3 separate regions of the Homo sapiens genome follow, and regions 1 and 2 are each linked to region 3. Evidence: promoter capture Hi-C in human tissues and cell types (Jung and others, 2019). All regions are on one chromosome and are shown on one strand. The core of a region is centred on a gene start or on the middle of the fragment in contact, and the rest is flanking DNA. Distances in the headings are between cores, read along the strand shown. Region 1 has its middle 25 kb from the start of SCP2D1-AS1. Region 2 overlaps DTD1 (D-aminoacyl-tRNA deacylase 1). Region 3 holds the start of SCP2D1 (SCP2 sterol binding domain containing 1).

Evidence for each region. Contacts are between HindIII fragments. The study calls those that stand out against the background at their distance.
Region 1: a fragment that was not itself captured here is called in contact with the fragment with the promoter of SCP2D1 in region 3 in 8 of the 25 tissues and cell types used here (H1 embryonic stem cells, IMR-90 fibroblasts, aorta and 5 more).
Region 2: a fragment that was not itself captured here is called in contact with the fragment with the promoter of SCP2D1 in region 3 in 1 of the 25 tissues and cell types used here (spleen).

Annotation. Positions count from the first base shown.
Region 1 is chr20:18,853,830-18,857,495 of GRCh38, forward strand. No RefSeq gene overlaps it. Among named protein-coding and RNA genes, the nearest start is that of SCP2D1-AS1, 25 kb to the left of the region's middle. The HindIII fragment of the contact is 7,453 bases long and covers 1-3,666 here.
Region 2 is chr20:18,749,714-18,752,997 of GRCh38, forward strand. The region is part of intron 5 of DTD1 (D-aminoacyl-tRNA deacylase 1); the gene reads left to right. Among named protein-coding and RNA genes, the nearest start is that of LCDR, 43 kb to the right of the region's middle. The HindIII fragment of the contact is 5,781 bases long and covers 1-3,284 here.
Region 3 is chr20:18,812,476-18,815,972 of GRCh38, forward strand. It overlaps SCP2D1 (SCP2 sterol binding domain containing 1), which reads left to right and starts at 1,308. Exons shown (of 1, transcript NM_178483.3): 1 at 1,308-1,903. The coding sequence starts at 1,341. The coding sequence ends at 1,811. All of the region lies in intron 2 of SCP2D1-AS1 (SCP2D1 antisense RNA 1), which reads right to left. The HindIII fragment of the contact is 11,706 bases long and covers 1-3,497 here.

The sequences.
Region 1 (3,666 bases), core at 712-3,211, 42 kb after region 3:
CTTTCTTAGGGAGTTTCTGTTGATTTTTTTTTTTTCATTTGACTGGGCCATACTTTCCTCTTTCTTTGTATGCTTTTTGATTTTTGACATTTGAACCTTATAATTTTTAACTCTGAAAATCAGATTCTTCCCTTTCCACATGGTTTCCTTTATTTTTAATTGTTGTACTGCATTAAAAGTTTAAATAGACTGAAATTAATTGCAACTTTCCATTCAAGCTTTTGCCTGGAAGTTGAAAGCCTTCAAACAGACTCCAAGTTTCAAAATAGTTACATCAGACAGATCCTGCCAGTGCATTTTTTTGTCTTGGTGGGGAGATAGATTCCTGTGCTTTCTGCTTTGCCAATCTTCTTGTTGTCACTCTGCATATTTAGTTTTGTAAGAAATTTTCAAATGGGTTTCCAGCATGGATATGTCATTTCACATTCCTGCAAGCAATTAATGAACAATCCCATTTCTCTACACTATTACCAGCATTTGGTTTTGTCACTATTTTTTATTTTAGGCATTTTGATAGGTGCGTAGTGATGTCTCTCTATAGTTTCAATTAGCATTTCCTGATGACTAATGATGTTGAAAATCTTTTCATATGTTTTTTTTTTTTCCATTTGTATTTCCTCTTTGGCAAACTCTCTGTTCTTAAGGTGTAGGTGTCTTGATTCAGCTCCTGGAATCAAGCTTCATTAAAGTCCTTCTACATTCCTTGGCCCTAAATGCCATAATCTCAGGCAGCAGCAGTCTACTTCCTTTTTGCCAGTCTTCATGGAAGCCTCATTTTAGCTCCTGGCTGCAAGCAGTGACCCCGGCTTTCCCTCTTGTCTCAAAATGGAACACCTTTATTCCAATTACCCTAGCTGAAAAGAGCCAAACTGGCCTGTTACTGAGAAAATCCACACAGAAAATACATACTTCCTTTGCGTTCACTCAGGGCTTTTTAATTGTTCATTCCATAGTACCTCTTTCTTTGTTTTCCAGAACATGGATATCAACTCAACTTCAGGCATATGTGTTTTTTGAAGTTTCTCTGCCTAAAAGCCCTTTGGGTGACAGATGACTGGAAGGAAGATACTATGCTAGTGGGTAGGAGTTAGGTTGTGTCACTCTGGTAGACACTGTAGCTACCCTGTTCATATCCTCTAATCCCATACCAGAGGTCATCTGCAGGCCATTCTTGTACACATCATGGCATCTTGCATCTCTGCCTTAGCGGTTCTGGTGGTAGGCATGTGCTCTGTCTGTGAACAGGGCAGCATGAAAGTGTTGCAGACTTAATGCCTCAGAGACAACTCTCAACCAAAGAGGAATGAGAGTTGGTGGATTAATGCCCCTGCTTCCTCCCACCTCAATGATACAATATTAAGACTTGTTTTGCACAGACTTTGATCACAGTTTCCTACCAAGACTGAAGATTCTGTCATGTTTACTCATAAAGGCTCAATGTCTCTAAATAATAATGGGTTTTATTTTGAAATAATTTCAGACTTAGAGAAAACTTATGAGAATAGCACTATGGAATTCTTTTACTCTTTTCCCAGATGCCCCAAACATTAACATTTATCATATTTGCTTTATTATTCTTTCTCTCTATCTGACTTTCTCTCTCTCTTTTCTCCATGCCCCAAGCTTCAGTTTCTTAAAAGACAAGGACATCCTCTTGCATAACCACAGTGCAATCTTCAAAATCAGGAAATTAGCATAGATGCAATACTGTTAGTTAATCTACAGACCTTCTTCAAATTGTGTCAAGTGTCAATACAATCCTTTATAACAAAACCAAACCAAAAACATTTCCTGATCCAGAATTCCATCCAGGGTTATGAATTGCATTTAGTTAACATTTCTTTCTTCTCCTTTAATCTGGAACTTATTCTTCAGTCTTTCTTTGATTTTCATGACATTGACATATTTGAAGAGCATAAGACAGTTATTTTGTAGACTGTCCCTCAATTTTGTTTTGTCTGATATCCCTTCTGATTAGATTTAGTTGATATGCTTTTGGCAGGAATACCCCAGAAATGATGTGCATACATCTTTCTCAGTATATCACATCAGGAAGGAGATGATGCCTACTTGTTCCGTAATTGGTGACGTTAAGACCAATTGTTTTTTCTAAGTGAAAAACTTAAGAGGAAATCATCAAGGAGGAGCTCTGTTCTTAAAAATGAGGATTCATATGGCTGGTGGAATCAGATTTCCCTTAGACATTCTTCATTCCTATCCCTCATTTACATTATTTGTGCCTTGAGGGAAGGATTATGCATGTGAGAGGTGATGTATACACCCACATGTCAGGCCTGAGCTCTGGCCTCAGGAATTGTATAAGATGAGGATTCTGCTCTTCTGCCCAGCTCCTTGGACTCAGAGGAAGTTGGGAAATGGGGAGATGGGTTAGGGACAGTAATGTCCCTCCAGCATAGTCTGTTTTACCCAGCTCTGGTTGAGACATGGGTTAACAAATCCAGTGGGATCTATGCCTATCTATGTAGGTTTTACCTTCTTTGATAATAGACTAGGCATTCCAGCTGCCATGTTGTATATTTGTGGTTTACAAATGCAGTGCTGCTCATAAATACTCTTAGAAGAATATCATGCGAGGTTTTAAAAATTACTTAAACCCTTAAATCCTAGTTTCTTCATCTGTAAAGTGGTGGTCCTAATACTTTCTAGTGTAATTATGAAAATTAAATGTTATAATTGATATAAACTGCAGTAAGCACCTGGAATACAAAAATGTTCAATAAATATTATCTATTAATGTTAATGATAGTAACTAAAGAGAAGTCTGCACTGTGAGTTAAGGAATCTCAGTTTGAATTTCAACCTAAGTACTCCCTGGCTTAGTGAATTTGGCTAATCATCTAATCTCTGAGCCTTGGTTTTCTTGTCTGTAAATTGAGGGTAATAATATTGTTCCTAGATACCCCCATGGATTGTTGGAAGGAAGAAGTGGTCTCATATGTGTGAAAGCCATTTTCACAGTGGAATAATTTTGTAAATATGAGTGGATACTTACATTCCATCTCTATACCATGCTGGGCTGCACATCCATGAAAATTGTCTGGGTTTAGCTTATAGCAATGGGGCTGGAAGTGACCATTGGCTCCAAGACCCACCAGAGAAACCTACATTTCCTGCCTTGTCCCTCCCATAAATCCTGACTGTCTTTTAAGTCTGTCCCTAAAATGACCCTTGGAATGCCTTTGGTGGTTCCTATCCCTTTGTTGGCTGAATAGCCTGCCTGCTGTGGTATTGTGCCTCTATAGTCTCATTGCCCATGTGGGAGGCTGCTAGGCCTTGTGGGGCCCCTAGGCCGTGCGGAGCTCCACCACTGACACTGCTCAGGTCATTCTGCTGACCATGAGATGGGGAAGAACCCTCTAATCTGTGTAGTTGATATTGATAGGATTCATCACAATTTCTTACAGATCCATTGTACCAGTTGCTCTCAACCTTGGCTGCACATTGGTTATCACCTGGTGTGTTAGATTTCATATATATTTATGATTCTCTTTCTGTGGAATTACACACACACACACACACACAAATATATGAGAGACAGAGGTTGATTTATTTAAATAATTGGTTCGTGTGGCTGTGGTGGCTAACAAGTTCAAACTCTATAAGAACTTGCCAATAGGCTGAAAGTTCACATAAGAGTTGATGTAG
Region 2 (3,284 bases), core at 372-2,871, 62 kb before region 3:
GCAGTGTCAGGGCCCAGGTGCTGAGCTGCACCAACCACCCTGCCACAGAGGACACTGAGGACCCAGAGTACTGTTGACATTAAGGTGAAATGGAGCCTCTGTCTGGTCAGGAACGCCCCTATTGCTACTCAGCGCATGGAGGCTCATGAACAAGTTTAGATCGGCCCATGAAAGACAGAGGCCACGTTTTGTTTATACCGATGTATATGGTACTGTCTGGGTTTTGGACAAAGCGCACAAGGAAAACCATTTATTGATGGTTTACCATAGGCATCCAGTTGTTCTTCTTTACGTCAGGGTCAGCAGTGACGGTGTCAGGCATGGACAGATGTCCAGGCAGGGAGGAGTCCTTCAGAGCCGCCCACAACTAGCCGAGGACCAGAGCGGGGCTGGGTGCTCCTGCTTCCGAGAATTTAGCCATGTTCCTGGATTTGAAGATCCTAAACGGGACCAGAACCAAGTGACAGCTGGCATTCCAATGATATATTTGGGGTTTTTTGTTGCCCGTGGGTTTTGTTCCCCCTTCTGATGAAATTTGTCATCCCAGTAGGCCACAAAATCACCACCAAATATTCAGATATCTATGAGAGCTGGATTAAATGGTGACAGACAGAAGGTGACCCTGACATTTGTTTTGTTCCCCAGAACAACAGCAGCCCCCTCACTATGAAGGGAGTAGCACTTTTCATTTGCTTTTCTTTAAATACAGAAAGAGCCCTAGGGAATCTGGCAGGCCCTAAGGGGAGCAGCTTTGAGTTTCCAAGGCACGAGAGAGAAAGAAAAGGCAAAAGAAAATTGAATGAGAAACTGCATGATCTTGGGCATATTTTTCTTTGAAAATGATTCAAAAGCCTTCATGGTTCAGAGGACATTTCCAGGGCCTTGACATTTCTCTGTCACATTGCAAATGTTGCTTCTTATTTTACCAAGTGGACATGAAACTGCTAAAATTAACTGTGTTTTTGTCCTCTGTCTCAATCCTTCGGGCTCTCTCACCTTGCTGGGAGGAGTTGAGGTTTTCTGTGAGGATGCAGCTCTATTATTTCTCCTTTCTGGCCACTGCTAAAGGCACTAGGGCCACCTCTCACTAAAATGATGTGGTTTCTGATTTGATTGCAGGGTCAAGTATTACCTCATTTGAGTATTGACTTAGCTGCTGTAATTAGGGTGTGAGAGGAGTGTGCTCCTGACTGGCACCCCACATTTCTGTCCTCAAATGGCAACACACTTGAAACCAAACAAGAAAGTGTTTTGGAAGCTGCCATCTGTTTGCTTTTTCAATGTGACCTTTGTCTGAATAGTAAGATGTGTCCTGGCTGAGCACACTTCTTCCTAATGAGCTACAGCAGCCGTGTGTGTGTGTGTGTGTGTGGGTGTGTGTTTTCTGTTGAAAAGGTATTCAGTCCCTTTTCACTGTTCTTTTCGCCATACAAGGTAGGACTCCTTTCATTCTCTGAGCTTCACTTTGCTTCCCTGTATCAACATTTGTACCACATTCTCATGTCCATGTGCTGGTATTTCATGGTATAAAACTAGCTGTGTCTCTGGGTAGTGTTTTTATCTTTTTTTAACTTAAAACAATTTTTTTAGTGGTTGCCCTGGAGTTTACAATATACATTTTTAACTAGTCTAAGTCCACCTTGAATGACACTCTACCACTTTACCTGTAACAGGCACCTTATAACAACAGCATATTCCCAGTGACATTGCTATCATTCATTTCACTTTACATATGTGATACTCACCTAATACATTGTCACTATCATTAACTTAAATAGTCTTTTTTTTTTTTTGAGGTGGAGTCTCATTCACTCTGTCACCCAGGCTGGAGTGCAGTGGTGCAATCCCTGCTCACTGCATCCTCCACCTCCCAGGTTCAAGCGATTCTTGTGCCTCAGCCTCCCTAGTAGCTGAGATTAAAGGCATGCACCAACATGCCTGGCTAATTTTTTGTATTTTTTGTAGAGATAGGGTTTTAACATGTTGGCCAGGTTGCTTTTGAACTGCTGGCCGCAAGTGATCCACACACCTCAGCCTCCCAAAGTGCTGGGATTACAGGAGTGAGCCACCATGGCCGGCCTTTGTTTTTGAAGGATAATTTTGCTGGTATAGACTTCTAGACTTGTAGTTTTTTTTTTTTGTTGTTGTTGTTGTTGTTGTTTTAATTTGCCTTTCTTTAAAAACACAAAGAGCCCTAGGAGCCTCACAGCCCTAGAGGAGCAGCTTTGAGTTTCCAAGGCATGAGAGAAAAAGAAATATTTAAATATTTTCAATACTTAAATTTTTATTCCTCTCTCTCCTTGTTTGCAGTTTCTTATGAGAAGTCCCCTGTAATTCTCATTCTTATTGCTCTATAGGTAAGGTGGGTTCTCCTTACCCCACCCCCAGCCCCCAGCTTCTTCAAAATTTTGTCTTTGGTTTTCCGCAGTTTGGATATGACGTGCCTAGGTGTGGTTCTTGCTTGGTATTTTCTGAGCTTCTTGGATCTGTGATTTGATGTCTGTTATTAAGTTTGGAAAGCTCTTGGCCATTAATACTTCAATACCCCTAGCTTCATTCACAATTTCCTCTCTGTTCTCTCTTCTCCTTTTGGTATTCCAATTATATATATGGTACATCTTTTGCAATTGCTCTACAGTCTTGGATAGTCTGTTCTTTTTTTCTCATTCTTTTTCTCTTTGTTTTTGGTTGGGAAAGTTTGTAATGACCTATCTTTGAGCTCACTGATTCTTCCTTGGCTGTGTCCAGTTTATTCATGAGCCCATCAGAGGCATCCTTCATTTCTGTTACAGTGTTTCTGATTTCTATTATTTCCTTTTGTTTCTTTCTTGGAGTTTCCGTCTCTCTGCTTACATTACCTATCTGTTCTTGCATATTGTTTACTTTTTCATTAGAGCCCTTAACATATTAATCATAGTTTTAAAAAGTTCCCTGTCTGATAATTCCAACATCTGTATCATAGTCCCAGTCTGATTCTGGGGATCTTTTTGGGTCCGCTGACCTTGAATCTGTAACTGTATGGCTTTCAGTACATTTGGGACATTTTAAGTAATATCTATTCAAATATTTTTGTCTGCCCCATTCTTCTTCTTACCTGGAGGTTACTGTTCCCAAACCTTAAGTGTCATTCTGGTTTTTTATTATCCATGAGGTTGGTTTGCTTCCTCACTGATGCAGAGTAGCATGTTATATTACTTTACTAGTAGTGGGACTGGATTTTCTCTATGCCCAGGCTTCCACCTCCATTACCTTATTTATTAGAAAATAAATTGGCCATTACCTTA
Region 3 (3,497 bases), core at 58-2,557:
ATAGATATGGTCTCACATGGTCTGTAGATTAGTTAGTAGTCATGAACCAATGTGAATTTCTCAGATTAGATCACTGTACTGTGATTATATAAGATGTTAGTTTTGGGGAAAGCTGGGAGAAGGTTAAACAGGTACTATTTTTGCAAACTTTTTATAAGACTGAAATTATTTCAGAATAAAAAGTAAAGAAATAAACAGGTGGACTTTGGAGTCATTCTGCCTCTCCTCAAATCTGGCTACACTACTTACTAACTGTGTGACATTGGGCAAGTTACTTCATTTCTCCCCTCAGTTTCCTTATATGTAAAATGGGGATAAAAAGAATACCTATCTGGGAGGCCGAGGTAGGTGGATCACTTTAGCCCAGGAGTTTGAGACCAACCTGGGCAGCATGGTGAAACCCCATTTCTACAAAAAGTACAAAGATTAGCCAGGTGTGGTGGCACACGCCGTATTCCCAGCTACTTGGGAGACTGAGGTGGGAGGATCAAATGAGCCCAGGAGGCAGAGGCTGCTGTGAGCAGAGATCGCGCCACTGTACTCCAGCCTGGGTGACAGAGCAAGACCTTGTCTCAAAAAAAAAAAAAAAAAAGAAAAAATACCTATCATAGAGGGTTGTAATGAGAGTTAAATGTGTTAATACATGTGTAGTACTTAGAACTCTGCACCTTGGCCCAGAGCAAGGGCTATACTATTACGTGTAATTATCAGAGGAGACTGGCAGCATCTTCTGATCTTAGGGACATTTAATCTCTCTGTGTGTGTCTCACTGTGCTTCTGGAAAGTTTCTGATGCAGGCTCCTGGACTGATTCCTTCTCCAATCAATTACTCTGGCCTAAAAGCATTTCCCTTTCTACCAGCAGCCAGATAAAGCCAAATTCAGCACTAGGATCTGTAGTATTAACTTAAGTATTACCCACTTAATGGGACTTAAGTGTTACCTAGTTTTAGAGGAATAAGAATAACTTCTGTCTCACGTTGGGTTTCACTGAGGAGATGTCTGCATTGGAAAGACAGAGCTCATGTCACTAAAGAAGCTTCTGGGGCCAGTTTCCCTTAACCCCATTGCAGCCTGCAGACCTTTTGGGCTTGCAGGACCAACATCCCTGATTGGTTTGGGAGGGGCGTGTGTGTGTGGATCTGCCTCACAATGGCCTGTCTGAGCCCTTATCTGAGGTCACACGTTATCATTTGTTTGGCCAATAAGACTGTAGCACACACACCAGCTTCAGTCCCCACTTGGCCTTACCTTTGATGTCACAATCTGACCTGTGGGTATTAATCTGGTCACAGCTGCTCACAGACTAGATGGCAAGGTCCAGGGGACTAGCACAGGAAGATGTGGAAGAGAAGTGACCATCAACCCAAGATCAAAGCAGAGGATGGACCTCTGGTGGGCCAGTTCGAGGTTCTGGGTTCAGTTCCAGAACCTGCCATGCCACATCCTCTAGAGCTGTCAGAATTTGAGAGCTTCCCAGTGTTTCAGGACATTAGGCTTCACATCAGGGAAGTGGGAGCTCAATTGGTCAAGAAAGTCAATGCCGTCTTTCAGCTGGACATCACCAAAAATGGGAAGACCATTTTGCGGTGGACCATTGATCTGAAGAATGGTTCTGGGGACATGTATCCGGGACCTGCCAGGCTCCCAGCAGACACTGTCTTTACAATCCCGGAGTCTGTCTTTATGGAGCTGGTTTTGGGCAAAATGAACCCGCAGAAGGCTTTCCTTGCCGGAAAGTTCAAAGTGAGTGGCAAGGTTCTGCTTAGCTGGAAGCTGGAAAGGGTTTTCAAAGACTGGGCTAAATTTTAAGCATGCAAAAATACCAAGGAAGAACTTCTCTTCGATGATAATGTCGAGTGGAAATCATGCTTAATCTGAAGATTAAAGTAAAAAGTATCCAATATTTTTACTCAAATTCTTCCTATTCAAGTTTAATTGATTTTCCTGTTGATGGGTAAATTTTCAGGGAGGGTTCTGAAGCAGTAAAAAGCGTTGTAGTGCATCAATTAGAATCTTTGTCTTTTTCTCTTTTTTTAGCTCCATTTATGCCCTTTATGCTCCATTTATGCCAGGGTGAGAGCCACGTGTAAAGAAATGGGTGATTATGATCATTGGAATTAAATACTCCAATGATTGTGTTCTTGAGACATTTTTCCTTTTCTAAAAAAGTTTGATGTTTTGGGGAAAGAAGTGATAACTATCATTGTGCAGGTGTGCATTCTGCATGGTAACTTGATTCCATGAGGAAACTTTACTATGAGACTGTGGGGTGCTAAGGGAATGGGGCACCACAGGTCTGTGGGTGGAACCCAGGCAATAGAGGGGATGGTGCTGTTGGTGTATTATAATTTCTGATGGTTTCAATTCCAAGAAACTTGAAGGGCTTGGGAGGTGTTCTAGGCCAGTGGTTCTTAACTGGAGCATGCATCAGAATCACCGGAAAGGTTGGTTAAAGTCTGGATTGCTGGGCTCCATCTCAGAGCTTCTACTCAGGAAATCTGGGCTGGAGAGAATGCACATTTCTAACAAGTTCCCAGGGGATGCTGATGGCACCACCCTTAGAGAATTCCAGCTCTGCTTCACTTCATGCCAAAGCTCTCAGTATTGACTGTAACTATTCTATTCTAGGCCAATGAGATGGTGCCATTAATTAAAGGATCTCCCAGAGACAGACCCCACAGCCCTCTGTGAGCCATTTATAAAGTATCCATGCTGTCAGGAGCTTGTGCATTGAACATTTTACAAAATCAGAGGGCAGCCTGGGAGATTTCCCTTCCGGAAGCTCCCTTCACATGTTGTCTGGGAGGATAGGATGAAGTCTGTTGCAGCTGATGCAAACTCCTTGTGGGTGAGTGTGTGTGTGTTCTTGGTTCACATGTGGTTTGTGTGTACCTTTGACTTGTGGGCTAAATATACACAGTGTGGATACTCTGAAACCTAGAGGAAAGTTTCATCACAACTGCCATGCTCAAACACCTACACAGTGTGGACACTCTGAAACCTGGGTGGAAGTTTCATCACAACTGCCATGCTCAAATACACGCCTACCAAATAATCCCACCATTCTGTTCTTGGGTATTTTGTTAAGAGAAAAGAAAGCATATGTACAAGCATAAAATAAACACTCGCATGCATGTGAATGTTCATGGCAGCTGTGTTGGGAGTAGTCCTAAACTGGAAACAAGCCACATGTTCATCAACAGGTGAATGGGTGGACAAATTGTGCGGTGTCATACCATGGAATATTACTTAGCCATGAAAAGGAAGAAATGATTGGCATACACACAAATGACAATGTGGATAAATGGCAAAATAATTATGCTGAGTGAAAGAAGACAGAGAAGACTGAGCACATACTACATGATTCGATTTATATTAAATACTAAAAAATGTAAACGTAGTGACAGAAAAAAAAAGGCAGTGGTTGCCAAGAGACAGGAGCATGGGGAAATGAGGAAGGATGGGGGGATTATGACAAATGTCATGAGGACACTT